2 separate regions of the Homo sapiens genome follow, and region 2 is linked to region 1. The links are contacts of gene promoters, found by promoter capture Hi-C in blood cells and fetal thymus (Javierre and others, 2016). All regions are on one chromosome and are shown on one strand. Each heading gives the region's core, a stretch centred on a gene start or on the middle of the fragment in contact. The rest is flanking DNA. Distances are from core to core; before and after follow the strand shown. Region 1 holds the start of SLC28A3-AS1 (SLC28A3 regulatory antisense RNA 1). Region 2 holds the start of ISCA1 (iron-sulfur cluster assembly 1).

Region 1 (6,470 bases), core at 3,411-5,910:
TTGAATGAGTGTAGCATTGCTCGGTTTGTTCTTTGAACAAAATCATAGGGTTTTGAGAATATTGGAAAAGTATTGCTTCAGTCACGTGGGTACCTTTGTCAGACTGGGTGTGCCTCTGGTGAACAACAGAGTACACGGAATCTTCTGAGCTTCCTATAGTCAGTCCTCAAACTGAGGAAAAATTGTCTGGCCTAAGCAGCATCTCTTGAGTCACAGGGCCACGCCCTTGCTTTCACGAATTCATCTTCCATCCTCTGACTGCCCCGTGAAAGGGATGTTCCTTCTCCTACCTCCAACTGGGCATCCTAACTTTCCCACGGAGTGGTCAGAGTTGTGGTACACACACCATGGCCAGACTATAAGGAAGCTCCTGTGATAGCTGAGAATTTCATTTTTACTAACATAATTATTTTTAAATTATATCCTTTTCACTGAATTATAATTTATATACCAACTTAAGGGCTCAGTTTTGATGTCACCTGTGTAACCACAACTATAATCGACATATAGACTATCATCTCTGTCACACCTTTAAAAAAAAAAAAGGTTTTCCTCATGGCCATTTGTAGTCAACAACCCCACTCCCATCCCCATCCGAAGACCTAGTCCCAGGCAACCAATAGCCAGTCTTTCACTGTAAATTATGTTTGCATATTCTAGAATTTCTTTTATTTTTATTATTATTTTTGAAATGGAGTCTCACTCTGTCGCCCAGGCTGTAGGGCAACGGTGCGATCTCAGCTCACTGCAACCTCTGCCTCCCGGGTTCAAGTGATTCTCCTGCCTCAGCCTCCCGAGTAGCTGGGATTACAGGCACACACCATCATGCCTGGCTAATGTTTTTTTTGTTTGTTTTTTGTATTTTTAGTAGAGGCAGTGTTTCACCATGTTGGCCAGGATGGTCTTGAACTCCTCACCTCAAGTGATCTACCCGCCTCGGCCTCCCAAAGTGCTGGGATTACAGGCGTGAGCCACCGCACCCAGCCCTAGAATTTCATATACATGTGCTCACTTAGCATTCATGTTTTTGCATGTATTTCCTTTTTATTGCAAAGCAGCATTTCATTTTTATGGGTATCCACAATTGTTTATCCATTTGCCTACTGAATGACATTCAAGTTGTTTCCAGCATGAGGCTATTTAATAAAGCTGCCATATATATTTATGTACAATCTTTTTGTGGCATGTGTTTTTGTTTCTCCTAGAAAAATTGCTGGGTCATTCAGGCAGAGCAAGTAAACTTAAGAAGAAACTTCCATACTGTTTCACAAACAGACTGTGTCATTTTACAGTCCCACCAGCAGTGTATAAAACTTCTAGTCACTTCACATCCTTGTCAACACTTTGTATTTTTTAATTTTAGTGGAGGCATAGTAGTATCTCATTGTGGCTTTATTTTGCATTTCCCTGGTGATCAATGATGTTGAACATCTTTTCATGTACTTTTTTGTTATTTGCATAGCTTTTGTGAAGTATTCAAATCTCCATCCATTTTTCCTTGGCTGTTGGTCATCTTATTGAGTTATAACAGTTTTTTATATAGTCTGAATAAGTCCTTTTTCAAGTAAATGTAATGTGAATATTTTCTGGGACCAATTTTTTATCTCCAGCAACTAGTCCTGTCCCTGGCACACTGTAGCAGATGGCCAGGTCATATGGAATATTAGAAGGTATTATTGACCAGGAAGCAGCATTTGTAGAAGCCAAGGCTACCAATCATAAGCCCTTTGTAGAGAGTCACTGAGTCCACACAGCCCCCTTCCATCTTCCCACAAAATTCAAGTGGAGATGGTAAAAGAGGTCTAGGGAGTAATGGGTATTTGATACCATGGACTGTGCATTTATTTGTCAATATTGAATTTATGGTCAAAATGAAGCCCAGTTGGATGTCAGATTTGTTAAGCCAGCTCAGATTGTGTATACATATGTGTTTATGCTTGCTTACAGATTCGTTCTGAGATAATCGCCACTTACGCTCTCTGTGGTTTTGCCAATATCGGGTCCCTAGGAATCGTGATCGGCGGACTCAGTAAGTGAAAAGAACATTCTTCAACAACACAGATGTGCCATAGACATACTTGGATCCCCATTTTGCTCTGTACTGTTATGTCAGAAAAAACAAAGGCCTTTGCAACAGTCATGAGTCCTCTGGGGTCTATTTTTTTAATCTCTAGTCTGCAATATAGTTTTCCCTTGCACACCCAAACTGACCTCAGGAAAAATTTTCTCAAACATACAGATGCTTCTCCCAGCCCAGGGGTGACCTGTAGGCTTCACCTTACATGCCAATGCCAATAGGTTTATGATGGGCACCTGGAGAAGGATTCTGAGAGCCATTGGAAGTCCAGTGGAAGAATGCTGTGATTTCTTAGTGGTGTCTGCCACGGGCATAGAAGTAGATGGTGACAGTTGAGTTGCACATCATCTCCTTAGTCTATGCCTCCTGCCACTCTTTTGCCTTGCCATGACCTCAATAAATAGCCCTTTGGATGAAACTTAGGAGGTTTTTCTTCTGTGGAGAATGAGCCTTTGAGCCTTTTGGCAAACAAGCCTCTTCCCTTCTTCCCACAGCAGAGAATTTCTCTGTATGTGGAGTTTATTACTAAGTTCTTGAATCTTGAATTTCCCAGCTAAGTTAAAGAAAAAAAAAAAAAAGTCAGCTGACCTGAGCCCAGCCTCAGAACAATTTTCAGAGGCTAAGAGTTTTAATCAGTACTTCAACATTGATCTCACATCCCTCCTTCCATGTTTCCCAGCATCCATGGCTCCTTCCAGAAAGCGTGATATCGCCTCGGGGGCAGTGAGAGCTCTGATTGCGGGGACCGTGGCCTGCTTCATGACAGCCTGCATCGCAGGTACCGCACCCTGTCCTTTGTGTCCCAGTGCCCACAGGATGAATGGCAGCTTTCAGGACAGGCAGTGCCTCCAGCTTGCATGTGCAGCACACGCTGCCACAGAAAGCTGAGAGTTAGAGCTGCTCTTAAGCATACTGTAAAGTTAAATGTGTGCAGTGTGGTGGAGGAGCTAAGAACAGAATGAGGGTTCAGTGACTTCCTTAATTAATAAAATAAATGGGGCCGGGTGCAGTGGCTTACGCCTGTAATCCCAGCACACTGGGAGGCCAAGGCGGGCGGGTCACCTGATGTCAGGAGTTTGAGACCAGCTGTCAGGAGTTTGAGACCAGCCTGACCAACGTGGCGAAACCGCATCTCTACTAAAAATACAAAAATTAGCTGGGTGCGTGCCTGTAATCCCAGCTACTTGGGAGGCTGAGGCACTTGAATCGCTTGAACCCGGGAGGCAGAGGTTGCAGTGAGCAGAGATCATGCCACTACACTCTAGCCTGGGCAAAAGCGCAAGACTCTGTCTCTAAATAAATAAATATATAAATACATAAATAAAACTAAAAAATAATAAATAAATGGGACTCTGTTCCACTTCTAGGCATACTCTCCAGCACTCCTGTGGACATCAACTGCCATCACGTTTTAGAGAATGCCTTCAACTCCACTTTCCCTGGAAACACAACCAAGGTGATAGCTTGTTGCCAAAGTCTGTTGAGCAGGTATTGTATTCTTGATTATAATTTCTTTATACTCCATTAATAATCAATCAAATCACACCTAAATATCCACTTACTTTTTTTTTTTTTTTTTTGAGACGGAGTCTTGCTCTGTCTCCCAGGCTGGAGTGCAGTGGCGCAATCTCCGCTCACTCATCGACTTAATTTTATAACTTTATGACTCTATTTAAAAGTAAGAACTTATGCAGTGATTCTAACCACCTTTCACTCTGACTTTTCTCAGATAAGGCTAGCAACTATAACACTAGCTAGTGCTACTCAAGCATTTAATATGCACCCAGCTGTGTGTTACGCACTTTGTATGAATTAGCTCACTTAAACCTTGCAACTACTGTATAAGTTGGGCACTATCTTTTTTTTTTTTTTTTCATTCCACAAAATTAAGGCTTAGGGAAGCTATGTCTACTCCAGCAAAATTAGCACAAGTACAAGTGAGATACAAAATTCAGGCTGATCTTCCTGCTAAGCCTATGCCCTTAACTGCTACCCTCTGCTGGCTCCCCTTCAAGGGGATCCAGGCTGTCCAGACAACACGATGATCGTCTATGGTGAACAAGAAACTACCAGTGACCCATGCCAGCCACCCCCACCCTGTACAGTTTTAATTTGCAAAATCAGTGTTCCCACACAAGGTGCCATCCTTAATGTGCAAGTGTTTTATAAGGATTGATTCTATCCTATCTTTGCTTGTTATGGAGGAAATAGGGAAAGTTCTTGAGGACACCCAGAATTTAGGAGCCAAAACAAATTCCCCAGTGTCTCTGTCCTTTAATCCACCCTAACCAGAATGTGAGCAAGAAAATCAGCTTCCTGCCCTGAACTATTTTTAATGTCATTGTCTGCTCACCTACTGTTTCTGCCATCTATGGCTCATGTAACTGTTTCTTTCCACTTTCCACCAGCACTGTTGCCAAGGGTCCTGGTGAAGTCATCCCAGGAGGAAACCACAGTCTGTATTCTTTGAAGGGCTGCTGCACATTGTTGAATCCATCGACCTTTAACTGCAATGGGATCTCTAATACATTTTGAGGTCAGCCACTTCTCCAGTGGAACTCTGAAGTACAGATGCTGAATTTTCTGCTTTGGAAAGAAAAAAAAAAGAAGCTATTGTCCACAGATTGATGCTTCCATAATGGAATCAGCTTTAATTGCAAGGAATGAAGAAAAACAAGAGTGGACCTTCAAAGCTACAACATTTTCCTCCTCCCCTCCCTCCCCACCAGCCCCTTCCCCACCAAGAACTGCTATGATGTCCCAAAGTGAGGTGTTGTTGATTCCAGTCTCAATGGGATTTTCTGACTTTAATGTTTGCAAGGCATTTCACCAGAATACAGCTATAAACGGCCGCTCCCAACAACTGGGCTCTGACTCACCCACACCCACTTAGTGTCCACTAAGTAGTCCAGGGTGACTCAGTTTAAGCACATCTCAGGTGAGGTCACTCTGCATATACCTTGGCTTACCTGAAATAGCCTGAACTTGAATCTCACATAAGGGAAAACTAGTCATCAATCACCAACTCATTGACTACCCTCAGGAAGTCCTGCAGAAATCAAGAGTCCTTGAGGAGAACACGTGGATCATACCAAAACCAGGGTTTAAATCCATTCTGCTTAAGAGTTCTATCAGTCAGTTTAACCATAAATTACGCTACAGAAACAAACAACCCAAAAACCTCAGTGGCTTACAGATTTATTTTTCACTCACATGTTTGTAATGATCCATCTTGGTTGTAATCCATATTGCTTCAGCACCCAGTCTAAAGGAGCAGCCTCTAAGGGGGGCATGTTGGTCTTAAGAGGGAAAAGAAAGGTGGGAACCACATGATGGCTCTTTCATCTTCCGCTAGGAAATGATACCCTTTACTTCCATGACATTCCATTAGCCAAAACAAGTCCTGTGACAGGCACGATGTCAGTCACCACAGTTAAATTATCCTGTCATAGGGAGGGATAGTGAATATTTTGCAGAAGTAATATGATACACCATAAGGGTACATAATATCCATGTCTCCCTTCAAGGAGCCATCCTGTTGTAGGCCATAACGGTAGGCCTATTCATCTGCACATTTGGTAATGTATTCCTGGTGACAAAGCAGCTACTCTTCAATCAAAAGCCGTGTAAGAAGCAGTTGAGGAAAAAAAGTCCTGGTTGAGCTCTGAAAACCTTGCGTTGATAATTTCATTGACCAGGATGGCATCAGTATCAAACTTGAAGAATGGGTGTCAGTGTCTAAGAAAAAGATTCCAGAGACAATGGTGGTGTGCTCTTTAACGAAATGCCCATCACCACTGCTCTTAATAGCATGAAGACCACATGCTGTGAGAAAACACAAACATCAATTACCAAGTCAAGAAACAGACACTGAATGTGAAAAAGGTTTTGAAATACCTTAAGTAATTTATTTTGTTTCTATTTTTCCTTCTGTTTGTGTACAAGAGTAATTTAAAAGAAAAAGCTATGTGAAAATAGTTGGGGTTTTTTGTGTGTTTTGTTTTTTGTGGTGGTGAAGGAGGAGGCCTAATGTCCAGAGGACTGTTTATCCCTGAAGTATGATATACTAAAATATTTCTTATTATTTGTATCAATTTTCCTTGGAGCTCAATGTGCCCTTGCAGTCTTCAGACTTTATTTTAGGAAAATATATTTGCATGTTTTCCCCCCATTCTCAATGTTTGGTGTCCTGGTTCATCATACCCCACAGAATGTTATGTTTATGTATCATACCATTCCTCTGTGGACATGCATTTACTTTGTTTACAGGTTTTGGTTTGGGGGTTCTCTTTTTCCTACTCTGGACAGTGCATGTACATTTACTTTGCATGCTGGTGCTTTTTTTTCTATAGCAATAGTGTCTGATAGACATATGCAAGTCACATGTAATTTA
Region 2 (6,583 bases), core at 2,067-4,566, 2.0 Mb before region 1:
TGCACCACCACACCCGGCTAATTTTTGTATTTTTAGCAGAGATGGGGTCTCACCATGTTGGCCAACCTGGTCTCGAACTCCTGACCTCAGGTGATCTCCCCGCCTCGGCCTCCCAAAGTGCTGGGATTACAGGCGTGAGCCACGCGCCCGGCCCCCAGTTTATGTGCAGATAAGGCTTAGGGGAAAAAAAAAAGCGTCCTCTTATTGTCAATGCGATTGCATTTCTGTAGCAGGAAGTCAGAACTACTTGATGGAATTTTGAACTATCCTTTCAGAAACTGCAGGAGATCGAAGATAAACTTGGCTTTAAAAAATGTTTCACTGATTAGTTCTTCCCACATTCAAACACTGCGAATCTGTCCTCCCCAGGACTGCTTCATAGACCCCTCCTGCCCTTTTTCCTTCACTTCTAGCACTTCAATGACAAATGCCACCTGTCTTGATGTCCTCCTCTCTTCATCTGCTAGCCCTGTCCTGCCAGTATCTCATTCTTCCCTGGCCCCTCTTTACCTGGCTTCCTGTGTATGCCTGGGTACCGCGCCTGTGCAGTGTCTGGTGCTCAGGAATACTGCATCAAAAGGCAGAATTAAGCCCCTGAGCAGCCAGGACAAGGTCTGACAACACGTTTTAAATCGAGTAATTGTTGCTCGCTATAAATGTGACTATTCACACTGCTGCCCAGTCACATTTTCAAGTAGGGTTGGTTCCCAGTTCAGCACCAGAATGAAAACTGCATTAGTCACCACCCTTCAGCATCCCCAGCAGTACAGCACGCTGGGGAGAAGGGTGGAGGGTGGCGATTATACAACTCTGCGGTAACGCCATGCTCTTAAGAACAGCCTAATTGGACCACAAAAGAAGAATGAAAATGGATGTAGATGTCTGGGCATCGGAACGATCACTCTGCATTTGAGAGCATAAGCTCCCAGTGCAGGGTTGACTTATGCGTCCTTAAGTGTCACCGCCTATGATGGTGTTTGTCACGGTGAGTATTAAAGCAGGGGGTGACGCTGCACCTTGCCCCGGGGGCAGGTGGTGAAGCTACGTGCATCCGGAGTCAGCAGGTCTGAGGTCATTCCTCGCCCCCTCCCGCCCGCTCCCCGACGTCACGCCGACTCCGTCCTCGGCGGTGAAGACATTCCTCCCGGGCCCTGCGCCCTGCAGCGTGGTAACCCCACTGCCGGAGACCGTGCGCAACCCAGCTGCTAGACCCCCGGCGTTGAGCGGCAAAACCCCGCCCCGAGCGGCTTGCCCCGCCCCCGGCTCGTCACTCATGCAACTCACCCAATGGTGGCGGCGGGGGGCGGGGCTAGGACTGAGGGCGCCGTGCGCCGAAGCTTGTGGCGTCAATGCGCCCGCCGTGTCCATGGAGAGAAGCTGAGGCGGCCGACCTTCGGCCCGAGGCACCGGGGCGCCGGGACGGCGAAGATGTCGGCTTCCTTAGTCCGGGCAACTGTCCGGGCTGTGAGCAAGAGGAAGCTGCAGCCCACCCGGGCAGCCCTCACCCTGGTGAGTGCTCGCGGCGCGCGGCGGGGCCCGTGACATTGCTCGTGTCCGCCCCGTGCAAGGGGAGGTCACGGCGGCCGGGAGTGGGGCCGCAGGGACGCGGACACGTCAGACCTCGGCGTCGCTCCGACCCGCCGCACAGCCTCGCCGCCTCCTTCGCCTCCGGCCCCTCTTTGCAACGATAAACAAGTCCCGGGCGGGGCTGCTCTCTTGGCCCCGGAAACTACGTTTCCCGTCAGGCCGCGCGGCAACCGCGTGCGGGCCGGAGGGGATCCCGGGGGTGGGCGTCCCCGGGGGCCGATCGCCTCCACACTCCTGCCGGCCTGCGCTGTTCGGCCGTTCCGGTTAAGCAGAGGCTGAACGTGCCCGGTGGCGGGGGTTCCCGGTGGTGGCCCGGAGTCCTAGCCTGGAGGTGCGTGGGGTGGGGAGGGACCAGGCTGTCCGAAGGACCGCTGTGTCGGGGCGACAGCGTTCGCAGAGGGCGAGCACAGCGACAACAAAGCCCCCGGCTCCTGCCGAGGTCACGGCCGCGGCGCGCAAAGCGTTACTTGCCGGTGTCCTGGGTGATTGAGGCCTTTGAAACTCCCTCTGTGCCTCTAGCAAGCCTAGGCTCTTAGGACAAAAGATGATTTCCCAGAGTGAGTTTACAGCCTTTTCTGGGTGAAAGGTCAAACACTCAGAGGGCACCAGAGTGCAACCATTGATTACTTAGAGAATTCACTGAGCTCAGTGTTCCGGCCGCACCGTTCAGTTTTTTAGTGGAAGGAAAATCCACATAACATAAAATTAGTCCTTTTAAAGGGTACAATTCAGTGCCATTTAAGACATTCACAGTGTCGTGCAACCATCACCTCTATCTAGTTCCAAAATACTTTCACCCCAAAAGAAAAATTTATGATCACGTTCCTACATACACTCCCCTTTTAGTGAAGGAGACGACTTTATGCAACCATTCGCTTAGAGACTGGGAAAAAAAACGATTTAAATTGACTCATCGATTCTGTTGCATCTAATGCCAAAAGGGCCTATTACCAGAAAATAAGTTTGTAGCAAAGTAGAAGAAAATTGTGATCAGGTGAGAGAATTTATTTTTATAATCAATTTTTTAGGCCTTTGATATTACCCTGATTATATATGGTACTACTAGTGTACTGATTATGTATCATTCTATATTACCTCTTTTCTGTAGGAGCAAGCTTATTTTCATACACCGTGGGATGTAGAATTAAACAAGGTTTTAAGAACTAGAGGGCACAACTCATTCTTTGTGTCTCTTTCAATCTCAGTAAGAATTATTCAGAATTCTTCCACTGGTAATGGTAGATCCAGGAAGAGCCAGAAGGTTCAGGAACAGTTTTTGCCTTTTCTTTTTTGCTTTTTAGCAACCCTATTAACTGGGTTTTTTGTTTTTTGTTTTTTGTTTGTTTGTTTGTTTTTGTTTGTTTTGTTTTTGGAGACAGGGTCTCACTCTATCTCCCAGGCTGTAGTTCAGTGGTGCAATCATGGCACACTGCAGCGTCAACCTCCTGGGCCCAAGCGATCCTCCCACCTCAGGCTCCCAAGTCGCTGGGACCACCGGTGTGCACCGTCATGCATGCACCTAGGGTCTCCCTGGGTTGCCCAGGCTGGTCTCGAACTCCTGGGCTCAAGCAGTCCACTGCCTCAGGCTCCCAGTGTGCAGGGATTACAGGTGTGAGCCACCATGCCTGGTCCCTGATGTCTTTCTCCATCACCATTTGACATGTTACCTCTTCCTTCAGAATTTCTTTTTTTTTTTTTTTTTTTTGAGACAGGGTTTCGCTGGGTTGCCCAGGCTGGAGTGCAGTGGCGTGATCTCAGCTCACTGCAGCCTCTGCCTACTGAGTTCAAGCAACTCTCTGCCTCAGCCTCCTGAGTAGCTGGGATTACAGACGCCCACCACCATGCCCAGCTTATTTATTTATTTATTTTTGTATTTTTAGTAGAGATGGGGTTTCACCATCTTCACCAGGCTGGTCTTGGACTCCTGACCTCGTGATCCACTCGTCTCAGCCTCCCAAAGTGCTGGGATCACAGGCATGAGCCACCGTGCCTTGCCCTTCCTTCAGAATTTCTATGTCAGTCCCTTTCTCTCCATTCCTAGTCATTCAGCAGACATTTATCAAGATCTGCTGTGTTTCAAGACAAATGAATGAGTTATACAGTTCCCAGCCTACGGGGCACAGTCGCAGGCCAAGCCTTTGCCACCTCTTACTAGGAGTAATAGCACTGCACATTCTCAGGCTTGGTCTCTCTCCACACTTGCTCCCCTCTGCTTCAGTACATGTTATCATAGCAGTTCTCAAGGTATCCATGTTGCCTGACTCAGCTGTTTTGATTAACTTGCAGGAGTCTACTGTCTGTACTCTGTTGTCCTACTTAAGTATGGCTGACTTTAGAAGCTTCTCAGAAGCTGTACCAGAGAGAAGGCACATCAATGCTGTTTTCCACACAGCCTGTGTTGGTGGGCTTGCAGTCATTTTAGTTCCAGCATTCGTGCCCTAGTCAGGACACTATGGCATGTATTGCTCTTTGTGCTTAGTTTATCATCAGCATGTATCGTCAAGTGCAAAAGTAGTGATGCCGTCAAAGGCCTAATGAATGGAGACAGATAAGAGAGCAAACAAAAGTATACGTAATTCAGTAAAACTGATTGGAAGAGGTAAATGTTACTTGGGTCTAATAAGTAGAGACAGATAAGAGCAAACACAAGTATACCTAATTCAGTAAAACTGATTGGAAGGGATAAATGTTACCTGGATATATAAATTTTGATGTTAGGAATTTGACATGTTGCAACATTTGAAAAGTGCTATATGTGTGGAGTCTACCAGATGTCAACAAAAGGCTAGGAAAAGTAACTGATAATATAACACAGTTCAATGCTGTCATTATCAGATTATCTACATCTTCCCTATTTCCCTACATATCTAGAAATTGACAAGTGGAATTGAACTTGCAGGAGCCAGATGTGATTAAAGAATCTGAAGAGTAAATAGTGCCCTGCTTGCAGACAGATTTATTTCCATCATTGTACAAGTCAGAGCAACTCTAATTTGTAGGACTGGGGTGGATCACAGCTGTGCATTAAAACTCAACCAAGTTCTATGAGAGAATGATGGTGCACAGCCACTATCATTCTTGATGAATTCATTGTGTACGGAAGGTGCCTTAGGGCTTAACTTTCTATTGGAGTCCAGTTGAGAAGCTAGGAAATGCTTAATGCTCAGTAAGGAACTGTGTGTTAGTTCATTGGACTAGAACCAGAAGTCCTTTTGAACAGTGACCAAGCACTAAGATTTCTATACGAAGGCAGTTTAGGAAATACTACACAAGAAGCACTGGAAGTAGCCTAGCAGTCTAACAGTGAAAGAACGGTTAAGTACGTGAGAGTAGATCCTGTTGGTGAAGGATGTAGTCATTGTAAATTATGGTTTTTTTTAAGTTTCAGCGTTATAAATCTTCATTCTTTGACTTATGCTGTGCAAATTATTTAATCTTTAATACCTAAATCACAATGGCAGGAATAAAAAGATGTTACGTTTAAACCATTAAACACTTAGAAGGTGCTCAGTAAATGGTGAATATATGTTTATTACCATGTATCAAATGAAAAAATAATTTGTTAAATTGTTTCAATGGAGGCTGCAAAATTATGTATATATGCCATGATTACAAACCTTTTTCTTTTTAGAGACAGGATCTTCCTCTGTCACCCAGGCTCATATGCAGTGGCATGATCATGGCTTACTGCAGCTTCAAACTCCTGGGCTCAAGCAATCCTTTCACCTCAGCCTCCCAAGTAACTGGGACTACAGGCACATGTCACCTTGACTGCTAATTTTTTTTTTTTAATTTATTGTAGAGACAGGGTCTTGCTCTGTTGCACAGGCTGGTCTCAAACTCCTGGCCTCAAGCCGTCCTCCCACCTTGGCCTCCCAAAGTGCTGGCATTACAGGCATGAGCCACCACACCTGGCCTACAAATATATATTTGTATATTATATGTATTTTGGATGTGTATATACACATATACACAAATAAGAAAAGACAAAAGAGAATGCTTTTGTCTTTTCTTATTTTGACACTCTAATGCCAGCCATGGCTGTTAAAGAATGATTTTAATAAAATACACTGTACTTGTTCACTGGCTCTATTTATTTACCATCTTTTGTTCCCCCAGAAAATTGATATGTTGACATTAAAATGCCATGTTTGTAGAGAAATTAAGTTGTAGTTGTTGGCACATGTTTAGTATGCATAATCACAGAGTTAACTTTAGCTTTGAATTTAATTTAATTTTCTTAAACAGCAAAAAATGAAAATTGCCTGGGGAGTTACTTAAAGAAATACAGGATTGAGAATGAAAAGTTTCTCCTACAAGGATTAGAAAGCGTGTTGCTATGAAGTAGTGATAAAACATTCATCTACAATGCCTTTTCCCTTAATTTTAACAGCGGAAACATCTTGGAAATATATTTATTTTTCAATTAGGCCAAAATACCTTACCTCAAAGATAACCTCTCACTTTAAAAGTCATATTCCTGTGATTTGCATGTGAGTAAAAACCATCATATTTTAGTGGGCTTCAGGAAGCTCTTAAATTTTAAAACATGGGCCAAATCTCAGGTAAGCTATATTCATTAATAGTACATAAATTTCTTGAGAATTACATGTTTCTTAGTTGTTCTGGGAAGTGCACTGGTACTGGCAGGCTGCTAGGCCCTGCAGCATGCTGTGTAGTTGAAGATTTTATGCTGTTTCTCACATGAATTTTACCTAAGCACAAAGTTGCCAGAGTATGTAGACTTAAAGCAGGGTAGGATTCTTAGCCTCTCCCTGGTACTGAGACACAAAAAGTACCTCTTATAGCTCGATTTTTTTTAAGTCCCAACTCTTCCCTTTTAACCACTCTCCCTTGTTCTGAAAATCAGATCAGTCACTTTGAAAGTTCTAAGAACCTTTTCCCTTGGTTGAGTACTGACCTGGGTTGTCCATCATTAGTAACACCCTCCCAGTGGAGTAGGTTTGGTTTTGGCCTGGCACAGGAAAATTAAGAC

Evidence for each region. The method cuts DNA at HindIII sites, captures the fragments that hold promoters and counts their contacts. A CHiCAGO score of 5 or more calls a contact.
Region 2: a fragment that was not itself captured here is called in contact with the fragment with the promoter of SLC28A3-AS1 in region 1 in 1 of 17 cell types (naive B cells); the score reaches 5.8 in naive B cells.

What each region holds. Positions count from the first base shown.
Region 1 is chr9:84,276,360-84,282,829 of GRCh38, reverse strand. It overlaps SLC28A3-AS1 (SLC28A3 regulatory antisense RNA 1), which reads right to left and starts at 4,660. Exons shown (of 2, transcript XR_001746802.1): 1 at 4,431-4,660. It overlaps SLC28A3 (solute carrier family 28 member 3), which reads left to right. Exons shown (of 18, transcript NM_001199633.2): 15 at 1,948-2,029; 16 at 2,757-2,855; 17 at 3,445-3,565; 18 at 4,486-6,470. The coding sequence ends at 4,612. RefSeq lists enhancers at 4,243-5,442, 5,575-6,126. The HindIII fragment of the contact is 13,311 bases long and covers 1-6,470 here.
Region 2 is chr9:86,277,304-86,283,886 of GRCh38, reverse strand. ISCA1 (iron-sulfur cluster assembly 1) reads left to right here and starts at 1,349. Exons shown (of 4, transcript NM_030940.4): 1 at 1,349-1,509. The coding sequence starts at 1,429. It overlaps LOC124902194 (a long non-coding RNA gene), which reads left to right and starts at 1,806. Exons shown (of 2, transcript XR_007061634.1): 1 at 1,806-1,918; 2 at 2,434-5,670. RefSeq lists enhancers at 949-1,228, 1,349-1,498 and a silencer at 1,669-1,968. The HindIII fragment of the contact is 1,224 bases long and covers 2,705-3,928 here.